3 separate regions of the Homo sapiens genome follow, and all the other regions are linked to region 1. Evidence: promoter capture Hi-C in 16 types of primary human blood cells and fetal thymus (Javierre and others, 2016). All regions are on one chromosome and are shown on one strand. The core of a region is centred on a gene start or on the middle of the fragment in contact, and the rest is flanking DNA. Distances in the headings are between cores, read along the strand shown.

Region 1 (4,159 bases), core at 416-2,915:
CCTTTTACTCCAAGCATGAAACCATTCATGTGCCAGGTACTATGCTAAGGAACCCAGTCCTCACAACAACTCTATGGGAGACAGTTGCTTTGACAGGTGAGGAAAGTGAAGCTCTGAGAGGACCAAGGTCACAATGAAAGGAGATGTTAGAGGTGACAGGGCTGGGTCATGGCCAGCAGCTCCAGCCTCTTAAGCCAAGGCTCATGAGAGGAACCCCTGAGGCCTGGTGTCAGGCCTGTTCTCTCTCAGTATATGCCCTGGGAAAAGGACTATGTCCCTTTTCACAAAGGCCGGTGGGAGATCACCAAAGACACCTTGAGAACTTGCCATCAAGTACAGCAGTCAAAAAAATACAATATTTTTAAACTTTATGGAGTGGAATGGTCTTTTAAAAAACTAGTTTTTTTTTTTTTAACTAATGTATAAATCCGATCTAGAAAACCAGAGATGGGCCACTGTGATTGAAGGTGGGCAAGGGTAGCCTGAGACTCCTCCAGAGCTCCTGGAGCACAGCTTGAATGAAAGCCACTTATCCACTAGGTTGGCACTTACTGGGAGAAGTGCAAGGGATGCCAAGATGTCTAAGGCTTTGACTTTGGGTTGGAAAGAACCGGGTGAGATTCTAGGGGATTCACTCCTGGGTTAGTCAGCCTCTGGCAGGGCTCAGGATTCCAGGTCTGCCACATGTATTGGGTGCTGCTGGCAGGTCTATGTGAGCTGAGCATTACTTGCCCCACCCTGGTTCCAGCCAGGCCCCAATAGCTTGACCTCACAATATAAAAAATATTTTCACTATCTTATGTTTCATGAATTTAATTCTATTAAGGTAAGGCTTACTACGTTCAAAACTCCAACCCCCTCCCTTTTTTCTTGCCCTTTAACAAGGCACCATCCGGTTTTCTTTACTAACAAAATGTCAGTGTTCAAGTTCAGTCTTGGTGCAAGATCGATGGCAGATGTCAGGGGCTGGCCGGGATGGCTTACATTGATATCATCATACGTAGGTCCTTCTCATAGATGTCAGGGATGTTACCTACCGGCGAGTTGATCATGCGCACGGTGTTGTTATTAAACAGCTTGAATTCGTAATTGATGAGCTGTTCCCAAAAGCCGTTGTTGGGCCGGATGATGGGGCGGCGCGACTTGGTCCATGTATGGGCGTCCAGCAGCGACATGGAGTGGTATTTCATGAGGTACGCAAGGCACAGTGAGGCGGAACGGCTCACTCCAGCCATGCAGTGCAGCAGCGTACGGCCCTGCCTCATATCGATGGTGTGGATAAGATCAGCAATGGGGTCAAAAAAGTCGTAGAGACGCGAGTCACGAGCATCGGTAACAGGCACCTTTATGTACTGAATGCCCTCGAAGAATACGTTGACCACTTCCACCGAGGCATTGACAATGGCGGTGATGCGATTGCTGGACAGAAGGAGTTTGTCGTTGGCGGCCACACCATTGCTGAGAAACAAGCTTCTGGTTATTTGGGAGAAGCTGTAGATGGAGGGCTGCTGGACACCCTGAGATGATGAAAAGGAGGACGCGGATGCTGTCATCAAGGCGGCTGGTCCGAGGTCTCTCTACGCTGGTTCGGGACACAACACTTACCAAGCTAGTTCAGGATAGCAGCCGCGCCGCCAAGTCTCAGGCTAGGTGTTGGAGAAAGAGGACCAGCTATCGGCCACCACCCTCTTTCTGTCTCCTCTCACCACTCCCATCTGGGCGTCACAATCCCGGACAGATAGCCCTGCGGCTCCGGTTTCCATGGCAATGGCCGCTTGCCGCAAGGAGGACAGGGCCTCTAAGCAGGGTCTTCAGAGACACCCCAGTCTCTTTTCTTTTTATCTTTCTTCATAGTCATTTATTTTCCAAGGCCTAATTCTTATCTTTCTTGACTTTTAAAAATGTTCTGTTACAAGATATCTATTTTATGTTTCAATTATTGGACCACGTTAAACAAGATCTATGAATACTTCTATTTCATCAGTGTTGCAGAACAGGGCTTACACTTTCCCTGCAAAATAGCAATATCACATTCTAAGTTGGGGAACAGCATTTGGCTCATGTGATATGCTAATCTCTATAAAACTGGAGCGAGATATGGGATTTGGCTGGGCTTGGTGGACTGGCCTGATACTTCTTTGTTGATTGTAACCATAAAATTATTTTCCTGCTTACAAACACATCAGGGCTGGTTGTAAGAGAGCATTGCTAACTGATATATAGCCCTTTATCTTGAAGTTGGCCTGTGGTGGACAGTTGTGACTAATTTAGCTGTGTCATAGTCCATTTGTACATACAGCTCAAATGACTTACCGCATGAGTCTATTTTATTACCTGAAACAACAGTTCAAATTATTTTGTTTACTTTCTTCAAAAAAAAATGCCTACATGCTTTGTGAACTACAAATCACTTTGACCACTACCGATGCTGTCTTCCCAGTAATATTAAACATTCTGAAACAAGTTAATGCTACATGGTAATTGGGCCAAAAATTGAGACAGTTTTGCTCTGTCACCCAGGCTGGAGAGTCCCAGGCCTCTGCTTCCTGGGTTCAAGTGATTCTTGTGCCTTAGCCTACCGAGTAGCTGGGATTACAGGAACGCACCACCACACCTGGCGAATTCTTGTATTTTTAGTAGAGACAGGATTTCACCATGTTGGCCAGGCTGGTCTCAAACTCCTGACCTCAGGTGATCCACCGGCCTCGGCCTCCCAAAGTGCTGGGATTACATGCACGAGCCACAGCACTCAGCCCAAAAATTAATTTCTAAAATGTAACCTGACATTTGCATTTCCTTCCAGCTAAGATTTTTATAGAATTTGGCTGAAAATTGAAAAGAACTATAGCCTAAAACTAACAAATTGTTTCACAGAGTAGCCAATTGACTCACATACTTTGCTCTCATTCCATCATCATTTTGGTATGTGTTCAAAGGTGTGCTGTGATTACGAACAAAGATGAAATAGATACCAGGCTGCTTATGATGGTCAAGGAAATGATAACCTCAAAACACAACACACGTTTCTTTTCTCAGTTGTCATAATCAAATTATTTTGCATTACTTAAATTGTCAGTCCCCACAAAGCTATCTGGAAGAAAATAGAACACGAATACTAAATAAATATGAAAACTGTTTGTTGGGGGCAGCTCAGCTGGGCTAACGGAGAAGCTTTGTAATCTATGTAGTAATGTGGAGGCCCTAAACTAGTATTGGAGTCTACTTATTTCATAAGTATACACTTCTTAAACTTTAAAACTAAGTACAATTAACAAAATAATTTCAGACACTATTTTCTTTTCTTTTTTTTATTTTTATTTTTTTTGAGACGGAGTTTTGCTCTTGTTGCCCAGGCTGGAGTGCAGTGGCGCGATCTTGGTTCACCACAACCTCCGCCTCCCAGGTTCAAGCCATTCTCCTGCCTCAGTCTCATGAGTAGCTGGGATTACAGGCTCGCGCCACCATGCCCAGCTAATTTTTTGTATTTTTAGTAGAGACGAGGTTTCACCATGTTGGCCAGGCTGGTCTCAAACTCTCGACCTCAGGTGACCCACCCACCTCGGCCTCCCAAAGTGCAGGGATAACAGGCATGAGCCACCGCGCCCGGCCTCAGACACTATTTTCAAAGACAAGCATGACCCGTGTTAAATAGATTCATTTATTTATTCTTCATATTCTGTGACACCTGTTAGTCTGAGGGATGTTGGATGTTTTAAAATTCCGCTATGGAGCTTTTCCTGGATAGATAACGTTTTCTCCCCTTGAGTTTGGAAGCAGGTCACTTTCAGATCCCACTTGTCTCTACTTTTCCTTTTTTTTTTTTTTTTTTTTAACACACTGATGGAGGCAATTTTCCTTGTTATTTAGTGAAGAAAATGTGCAATGGACTTGCCCAATAACACACTCTCTTTCCACCGCTGGGAAAACACCCTGGATGTTAAGAACTAGTTAATGTTCAAATTTCTCAATTCAGTAGTCAAAGCCCTTTCTAATCTAAGCCTGCCTTTCAAATCTCATTCATTCATTTATTCATCAGATTTTTATTAAGAATCTATAGTGTGTTAGGCATTTTCACCTATATAAACCCTCAGTTCTGACCAAACAAAGCAAACGCTTTTGGTAAATACAAAATGTACATTCCTGTTTCCTTACCTTTGCT
Region 2 (4,159 bases), core at 389-2,888, 240 kb before region 1:
TATTCTTTATAATACCTGTAAGTGGACCAACATTCCAAGCAATGTTGTTGCACCAGCCAATAGCCTGAACCCAATGAACAGTGCCTGCATTTATCCAGACCAAATCTCCAGGTCGCTGAATAAACCTATACACTGGAACATTTGCTTCATAAAGATCTTCAAGATTGGGCCACCAAGAACCCATTAGGAAATTCAAATTATTTCTGAAATAAGAAAAAAATAATGCAAATGGATCAACTACATTAAGAAGCTCCTAGTAAGACTGGAAGAAAATGTCACAAATTTTTTAAATAAACACTTGTTCATTTTATTGAAACATAATTGCTTGTGCAAAAAGATCTGCTGTATGTATATAGAGTGTGTAATTATGGTTGAGTACTAAATTACTAAAGATCAGTGTTACTTTTTTTTTTTTTTTTTGAGACAAAGTCTTGCTCTGTTGCCTGGGCGGGAGTGCAGTGGCTCCATCTAGGCTCACTGCAACCTCCGCCTCCTGGGCTCAAGCAATTCTCCTGCCTCAGCCTCTGGAGTAACTGGGATTACAGGCACCTGCCACCACGCCTGGCTAATTTTGTATTTTCAGTACAGACGGGGTTTCACCAGGTTGGCCAAGCTGGTCTCGAACTCCTGACCTCAGGAGATCCGCCTGCTTCGGCCTCCCAAAGTGCTGGGATTACAGGAATTATAATACCTGTAGTAAGTGGACCGGCCCAGCATTACCATCTTAAATTGATTTTTCAAAGATCCAAATGAAATCCAAAGCTACTTTCAAGTAACACATAAATTCACTTTCAATTTCATTTCAACAAAGACTATTTTTGACTGAAGCCTTCTCCCTGGAGCACCTAGAAATCCCTAAAAGGTAAATGGAAGGTGGAGTTGACATCAAGTCATTTAAATCCATAAACAGGAACACTGTGGCAATACAAGTACCAGGAACTTCCCTTAATTTCTGAGGAAAAGGAGACTGGATGTCAGACTCCATATAGTTTGATGATTAGCTGATTAAAACTATGCAGTTCAAAACAACTTCAGCAAAAACAAACAATCACGCACATGCACAAATAATCATGACCACTACTACCAATATACTTTGGAAACATTCCTTAGATATTATTAAGCTTTTATTTTAATATCTGGCTTCTTATTCTCCATCATGATATGAAGTACTTTTTAAACAACATAGCAACCTTTCCCATAAAAGAACTTTATAAAATTGAATTAACCACTTCAAATTTCATATTTTGGGGAAGGAAGAACTTACACAGTAAAAATGTTCCTTTCCTTAAGATCTAAGAAATAATCTTACTTTATTTGTCTTGTGCTATAGCACATGATAAAGTATACTTTACAATTGTTTTTACTGGTTTAAATTTAATTTTTTATCTAGATCAAGGGTTGGCAAACTATGGCCCACGGGCCAAATTCAGCCCACTGCCTGTTTCTGTAAAAAAAACTCATTAGAATACAGCTATGTCCATTCACTTACGTACTATCTCTGTGTCTGTGCTATAATGACACAGTTGTGACAGACAGCGCATGACCAGGAAAGGTGAAAATATTTATTATCTGGCCCTTCATGGAAAAGAAATCGCCAAACTATGATCTAGAAAGAACCTTAGTCTCTCTTTTTCTCTCTTGAAAAATGCAAGGCTACTCTTGAAAGTTTAGACTAGAGTGCAAATGGTAGCCTAACTGCAAAGGGATAAGGATTGGCTTATTGTGTGTGACAAGGCCAAGTAGATACAGTCCAGAAAAAGTTGCCTATAAAGCAAAAAATGGCTATAGACACAAATCCTAGCCTTATTTCACCCATGTATTGCCATTACAAAATTAGAGAAAACTTTTTATCCAAAAGCAAGCAAGTAATCCCAAACAGACACCCCCCGCCCCAAAAATCAAACTTACCAAAAAGCATGCATCATTTTAATCATATATTCAAAAGAATGGTTATTTCAAGACAGGTATTATTTAAAGCCATAAAATAAACTACAGATACAGTATACAGTCACTATCAAAAGCAACAATCTTTATGTGAAACAAAATTACAGTGAAATGCTGAAGAAGCAAGTACTACTTTCACAACTGAGTTATTAGATTTACCTAACCCTTCCTTCTAACTTGATATTTTTATTATCCCTACGCTCAAGCTTTTTGGACATCATCTGCTTATTCTAATTATCTTTTTTCCCAAGACACCTCTCCATTTAGATAGGAAACAAAACTACACCCTAAAAATAGCCAGTCCCTACTCAGAAACAATGAACAAGGATTCCTGTACTATAGCTGCAACAATATAGTATTAACTCAAAGTTTAAGAAATAAAAATCTTTCTATAGCACAATGGAGATTTCCCATATAACAATGTTCTTTCTCTGCTGCTACTGGTCCATAAAAAAAGTACAGATTAAAGTAATCAGGTTATTTCATCAGTACATTAGAAGCTTTAAAACTCTGTATCTTTGGCTTTCTTACATTGAAGGAAACCAATATATGAATAGAGAAGACAACATAAGGTAATTATCTCTTGCTTTTATATAAGGAAACTGTGGATTAATATATTTTTTTGTTTTTCAACTACGATGCACTTCTTACTAAATCCAAATATTTACAGCAAAGATTCTTAAACCAAAGTAAGAAATTAGAAGTTAGTATGGGGCTGGGCGTGGTGGCTCACGCCTGTAATCCCAGCACTTTGGGAAGCCAAGGTGGGTGGATCACGAGGTCAGGAGTTCGAGACCAGCCTGGCCAACATGGTGAAACCCTGTCTCTACTAAAAATACACAAATTAGCAGGGCATGGTGGCACACCCCTGTAATCCCAGCTACTCAGGAGGCTGAGGCAGGAGAATTGCTTGAACCTGGGAGGCGGAGGCTGCAGTAAGCTGAGATTGTGCCACTGCACTACAGCCTGGGCAACAGAGCAAGACTCCGTCTTAAAAAAGGAAAAAATAAAAATAAAGTAGTATGTGGAATATGTGTATAATTAGTTTTCAAAGTAATCTCATGTAAATGTTTTCTGTGGGTGTTTTCCCCCTTTAATTGGGGTGGGGGCATAACACCAAATGTGTATATAATGTATATTTTCATCCTATACTAATTTGCTAATGTTATTACTAAATGAAAATACCAGGTCCTTATATAATGAAGTACTTTCTAGAAAAGAAGAGAATAAGGTTCTAGAAAAGAAGAGAGTAAGGTTCTATCTAGACAAATGATCAAATTGAAACCAACTAAAAAAAAATTCCAAAGTACTTTTTAACACAAGACACAGAAGTAAATAAAAGCTATTTCTGGGATCTTAAGGAAAGGAACTATCCAAGTTCTTTCAACTAGAGAAAACAAAATCTGGGCTGGATGTGGTGGATCATGCCTGTAATCCAGCACTGTAGGAGGCCCAGGCAGGTGGATCGCCTGAGCTCAGGAGTTCAAGAGCAGCCTAGGCAACATGGTGAAACCCCATCTCTATTTAAAAATAAAAAATAAATAATACATTTTATAAAATTTCTTCATAGAAAAAGTTGTCAGTTTAAAAAGAATTTATATCATGATATGGCAAAAGGTATTATGGTCAAGCTTGAGTTATTCACAGCCTATACGGGTGCTCAATAAAGAATTCCTTCTACTTCCTAAAACCATTTATAACAAAACAATTTTTCTTGGAATACACACATTTCAAATGAATAAGTATGCATCATTTTAAAAATTAAACTAATAACTCAACTTTTCTATCTTCTTAATTCATGGGTACTACTACTGCATGAAGTTGTTTCATGGCATCTTTCTTAAAGTATTTCCAATAACACAAAATATGAGGTTTGGAATCAAATAATTTAAAATGAATTCTTCGCTGAATGGTAAGTGAATACTGGCAATGTATCCATTAGGAGATCCAGCTTGGTAAGTTGTCGTTTACAATTACTGCTTTCTAATATATGTTTTAAGAAAATTTACTTTGGAAACCTACTTTTCACAGAAGTCATTCAGAACACCCCAGTAACCTTCAGGAACAACAAACCATTCACAGTCACCTGGGCCAATATTTATGTTAACTGAACAGAAGTTGTTATTTTCCTGATGACCTGAAATGTGAAAAGAAAAAAAATTGGAGCTCCAGTGGTGCAATTGGTTAGCACACGGTACTTATACAGAAAAAAATT
Region 3 (4,159 bases), core at 10-2,509, 220 kb before region 1:
TCTGGTCAAACACACTGTCTTCTGACCAACAGTCACACACTCCAAGATGAAGTCCTTTAATAAGCTTGAGAAATATAAGAATGAACTAAGCATTCATCTGAACAAGATTTACTATGAGTTCTTTGTAATAGATGGGCATGAAATTTTACTCATCCATACAGTATTCTTAGGTATTCACAGAGAAAACTCTTGAAGCTTAAAAATATATTGACAAGTATGCTAAAAGCAGCACTGTCTGGAATAAGCAAAGTCTGAAGACAACCTGAATGTCCAAAATTACTGATCTGCTTAAATAAAGGTGTTACATCTATATAAAGAAATATGATGTAACCATAAAAGAACAAGGAAGCTCTTCACATATTGACATGCAGAAGTCTGTAAAATATGTTGTTAACAGCAAATAAGAATCCTATCATTTGTGTAAAAAAGAAGAAAAATAATAATACATGTGAGAAAGGGGGGGATGTATATTTGCTTGTACATACATAACATACCTCTGGAATGATAGATAGGAAATTAGTAATACCAGCCACATTTTGAGTGGGTAGGGGCCAGAGTTAGAAGAAAACTTTACCCTATATACCCTATATTTATACTTTATGTAGTGTAAACCATGTCCTGTTTAAAAAAAAAAAAAGAAATTAAAAACAAGAATGAATGCTCTTCATTATTCTGGTAAATGCAGGCTCATTTTACTTTTGTGCATTTTAATTGAATGTACTGCCATTTAACTTATAAGAATTAATACTTAGGGCTGGGTGCAGTGGCTCACACCTGTAATCTCAGCACTTTGGGAGGCTGAGGTAGGTGGATCACTTGAGGTCAGGAGTGCAAGACCAGTCTGGCCAACATGGCGAAACCCAGTCTCTACCAAAAATATAAAAATTAGCGGGGTGTGATGGTGCGTGCCTGTAATCCCAGCTACTCTGGAGGCTGAGGCACAAGAATAACTTTAACACAGGACGCGGAGGTTGCAGTGAGCCAAGAGCGTGCCACTATACTCCAGCCTGGGTGACAGAGCAAGACTCTATCTCAAAAAAAAAAAAAAAAAAAAAAAAAATTAATACTTGTTTGCTACCTCTACTCCTTTTTAATAAACAATTTGTCAAAAACATCTTACATACCTGTAATTTCTGTGGTGTCAAACACCATGAATGAGCTTGTTGCTGTACTGGAGGATGTGACACAGCATGTCCACCACTCCAATTGTCAGAAGTATTCTGAGGAAAATCGATTTAAAAAAAAAATTAAAGAATATTTGGTTAAATCCACAGTTAATAATAATGGTTAGAGGAGGCCAAATGACTATGAATTGGAATATTTACATGTTAAAAAGATGTTATAACATTAAATTCTTTAAAAAATAATTTTACATGCATATTAAACTTAGAAATCATACATTTAAAAATTACTGACTATTTAATAAGCCACCCAAAAAGGCCCACCCTCAAACTATGGCCCAAACGGCTAGCCTAAACACCACACTGTCCACTAGATCCAACATTAAATTTATTTCAATGTCAGTAAAAAGTGATGATGAAAAGTGTGCTGGGATCTTAACGGCAGGGAGATGAATAAAATGATTTGATGAATGCAAATTTATCCCTACTTTCTATATTTAATATGATACTAAGGGTTTGGGATGGAAAAACTCAAACCTTTCACTCTTTGATGTCCACAAATTTAAAATAAAGGACAGGAAATGTTCAAACTGCACAATTTCAGGGCAGCTGAAACTTCTTTTTTGACTGGGATTTTCTATTTCTCTAAAACATATACCTTTGTTGGACTAGATGTTCTTTTCCTCTTGGCAGGACTGGACAGGTCATCTACTTGGCTAGAAGGAATCATGTGTAGTGGCAAGGATTGCTGTGAAATTGGTGTTTGACTGAGGCCTAATACAGGTTCAGTATTTGGATGATGAGGTTTACATGCCTAAGAATCACAGAAGGAAGACAAAAATAGGGTTCTATATATTCTTAATTCATTCCTTCAAATTATAAAACTTTACAAGCTGCATACTTTTCAAAGCTATGTGGACATCGCTGATTGCAATGATTGAAAATCAAAATTAAATGATTCATCAATGGAATAATGTGTACCTTCCTTTGAAAAACTTGCCTTAAAAATTAAACAAACCACTGTAGCATTATTTTAAGAAATCTCCTTCAAAATCATGAAAATGCACAAAGGTTCTAAGTTGGTACCCCAAAATCTCTTCCCATATTAGAGGGAATTTTATTTTGATCTAGATTCCCTTTGCAATTAAATCAAAAGGCTTTTCATTACTAAAAGCCTCCTGTGCTTAGTAAATTAAGCTTGACCACTAGAGAATTGAAAAGAACCCTTAAAGCTGGGCACCTGCAGAACATAACCCAACTTCTCACCTGCTGTGCTGTGTTCATGGCACCCTGCCTGGAGGTAAGCTCTGCGGGAATTGGTAGGCTCCACGCCTCCTCAATACTAGGAAGTAATTTAGTTTTATTCTGTAGACTACCTTGTGGAAGGTTACACAACTGAGCCTAGGAAAAATTATGTAAAAAGCAAATTTAACACAAGCCTACTTGAGTAAGAGCAAGTCCACTAAATCTTCCTAAATGCTATAGCTAATTGTTTTTAAAAGAAAATAGATTCTAAATTTGGGGCTTTAGAAGACACTAAGTATAAACAGGGTAACCGGAATATAAACCTTTGTGAGAATCAAAACAAAGCTGAGCTCTGTTTTCAGAGTTCTCATAGCTGTCTTCTCAAGAAACTCCAAGCAAGAGTGAAAGACTGTTTGTGTTTTCTATAAAATGCTATGACAACTTAAAAATGTAGACAGTACATAGAAAAAAATTATGTAAATTAATATGCATCAACAGAGTAAATGTGCAAAAGAGCATCTTTAAAAATACTGCATATCTTACTTAAAATGAAAAGTAAAATAATATTACAAGCTATGGTATGTTTACAAAATATGGAAACAGATTATAGACATCAAAACACAACTAGACAAACTTTCCAGCCACCCTCCTTCTGCCTGAGTGTTCTGGGGAAATATGTGGCTTTAAAAAACTGCCATTTAAAAATTTTACCTGTAAATACTTAATTCGTGCTGCAAGTGCAGAGGTATTACTACAACTTTTGCTTCTAGTTGCATTTAAGTAGCATTTAATGGCATCCTGAGGCTGGTTGCAGGATTCATAGAGAGTGCCTAGGTCCATCCAGGCTGCAGCATGGCCATGGTCCAATTGTACAGCACAAATATAGGCCTGTAAAGCATCCATGGGCTGATTTTGCTGCTGATATAGCACACTGGAAAGAGAAATTAAGAAAAAATAAGTCAACTCAGAAGAACTGCTTGGTTTTATAATGATTTAAACTATGAAGTACTATATGTGATGCAACCATCTTTGTATATCAATTAAATTACTACTATTTTTATACAAAGGCTTACCCTATTGAACACCATGTATCTGCACTTGCTTCTGATTTATCAATAGACTGCCTGTAAGATATAAAGGCATCCTGAACTTTCCCAATACTTGAATAGCACCTGAGAAGGGAAGGGAAAAAAAAAAAAAATCAAGAGAATTCCATTAATACTGAAACAAATTAATCGGCTGAAAGGATGGACTATATATCACAGCAAATTTTTTTAAAACCCTAATAAGTTAATATATTTATGTGTATGTATGTATATACTTGTTAACTATAATGAATATTATAATTTGCCCTCCAACAAACCATATTATAGTCTGTCTTATAGGTGCTAAAAAGCATGCTGCATTAATGAACTCTATTAAAATGATTAGGGGACATATCACTTCAATATTATAATACTGAGAGCTGCATGCACATGTGCACACACACACACACGGCACTCTTCCACTCTTCTTATACAGCTTGACCTCTAGTTTCCTATATGGTCAAAATACAGAGTTAAAAACAAAAACACTATATACGTTGGTAAGATTTGCTGTATCAGATTTCAATTTTCCTTTCCCAAGTAACAACACTGAGGGCAATAATTCTTTAATTCATAAAAAAAATGCACATGTAAGACATAGTTAATCTCAAACTAAGTATCAAAAATAGTATAAAGTAAAAAGTAAAAATAATATAAAGTATAATATTTTATGACTAGTAAAGTTAGCAAGGTAAGATTAACGATTCA

The links. Contacts are between HindIII fragments. The CHiCAGO score rates a contact against its expected background, and 5 or more counts as called.
Region 2: a contact is called between a fragment that was not itself captured here and the fragment with the promoter of DUSP21 in region 1, in 1 of 17 cell types (erythroblasts). The highest score is 5.2, in erythroblasts.
Region 3: a fragment that was not itself captured here is called in contact with the fragment with the promoter of DUSP21 in region 1 in 1 of 17 cell types (erythroblasts); the score reaches 6.1 in erythroblasts.

What each region holds. Positions count from the first base shown.
Region 1 is chrX:44,841,527-44,845,685 of GRCh38, reverse strand. It overlaps DUSP21 (dual specificity phosphatase 21), which reads right to left and starts at 1,665. Exons shown (of 1, transcript NM_022076.4): 1 at 798-1,665. The coding sequence starts at 1,553. The coding sequence ends at 981. The HindIII fragment of the contact is 1,701 bases long and covers 1,473-3,173 here.
Region 2 is chrX:45,085,787-45,089,945 of GRCh38, reverse strand. It overlaps KDM6A (lysine demethylase 6A), which reads right to left. Exons shown (of 30, transcript NM_001291415.2): 25 at 3,967-4,081; 26 at 16-203. Among named protein-coding and RNA genes, the nearest start is that of DIPK2B, 110 kb to the left of the region's middle. The HindIII fragment of the contact is 1,029 bases long and covers 1,124-2,152 here.
Region 3 is chrX:45,058,385-45,062,543 of GRCh38, reverse strand. It overlaps KDM6A (lysine demethylase 6A), which reads right to left. Exons shown (of 30, transcript NM_001291415.2): 11 at 3,440-3,538; 12 at 3,078-3,297; 13 at 2,388-2,522; 14 at 1,780-1,935; 15 at 1,125-1,220. Among named protein-coding and RNA genes, the nearest start is that of DIPK2B, 140 kb to the left of the region's middle. The HindIII fragment of the contact is 2,123 bases long and covers 198-2,320 here.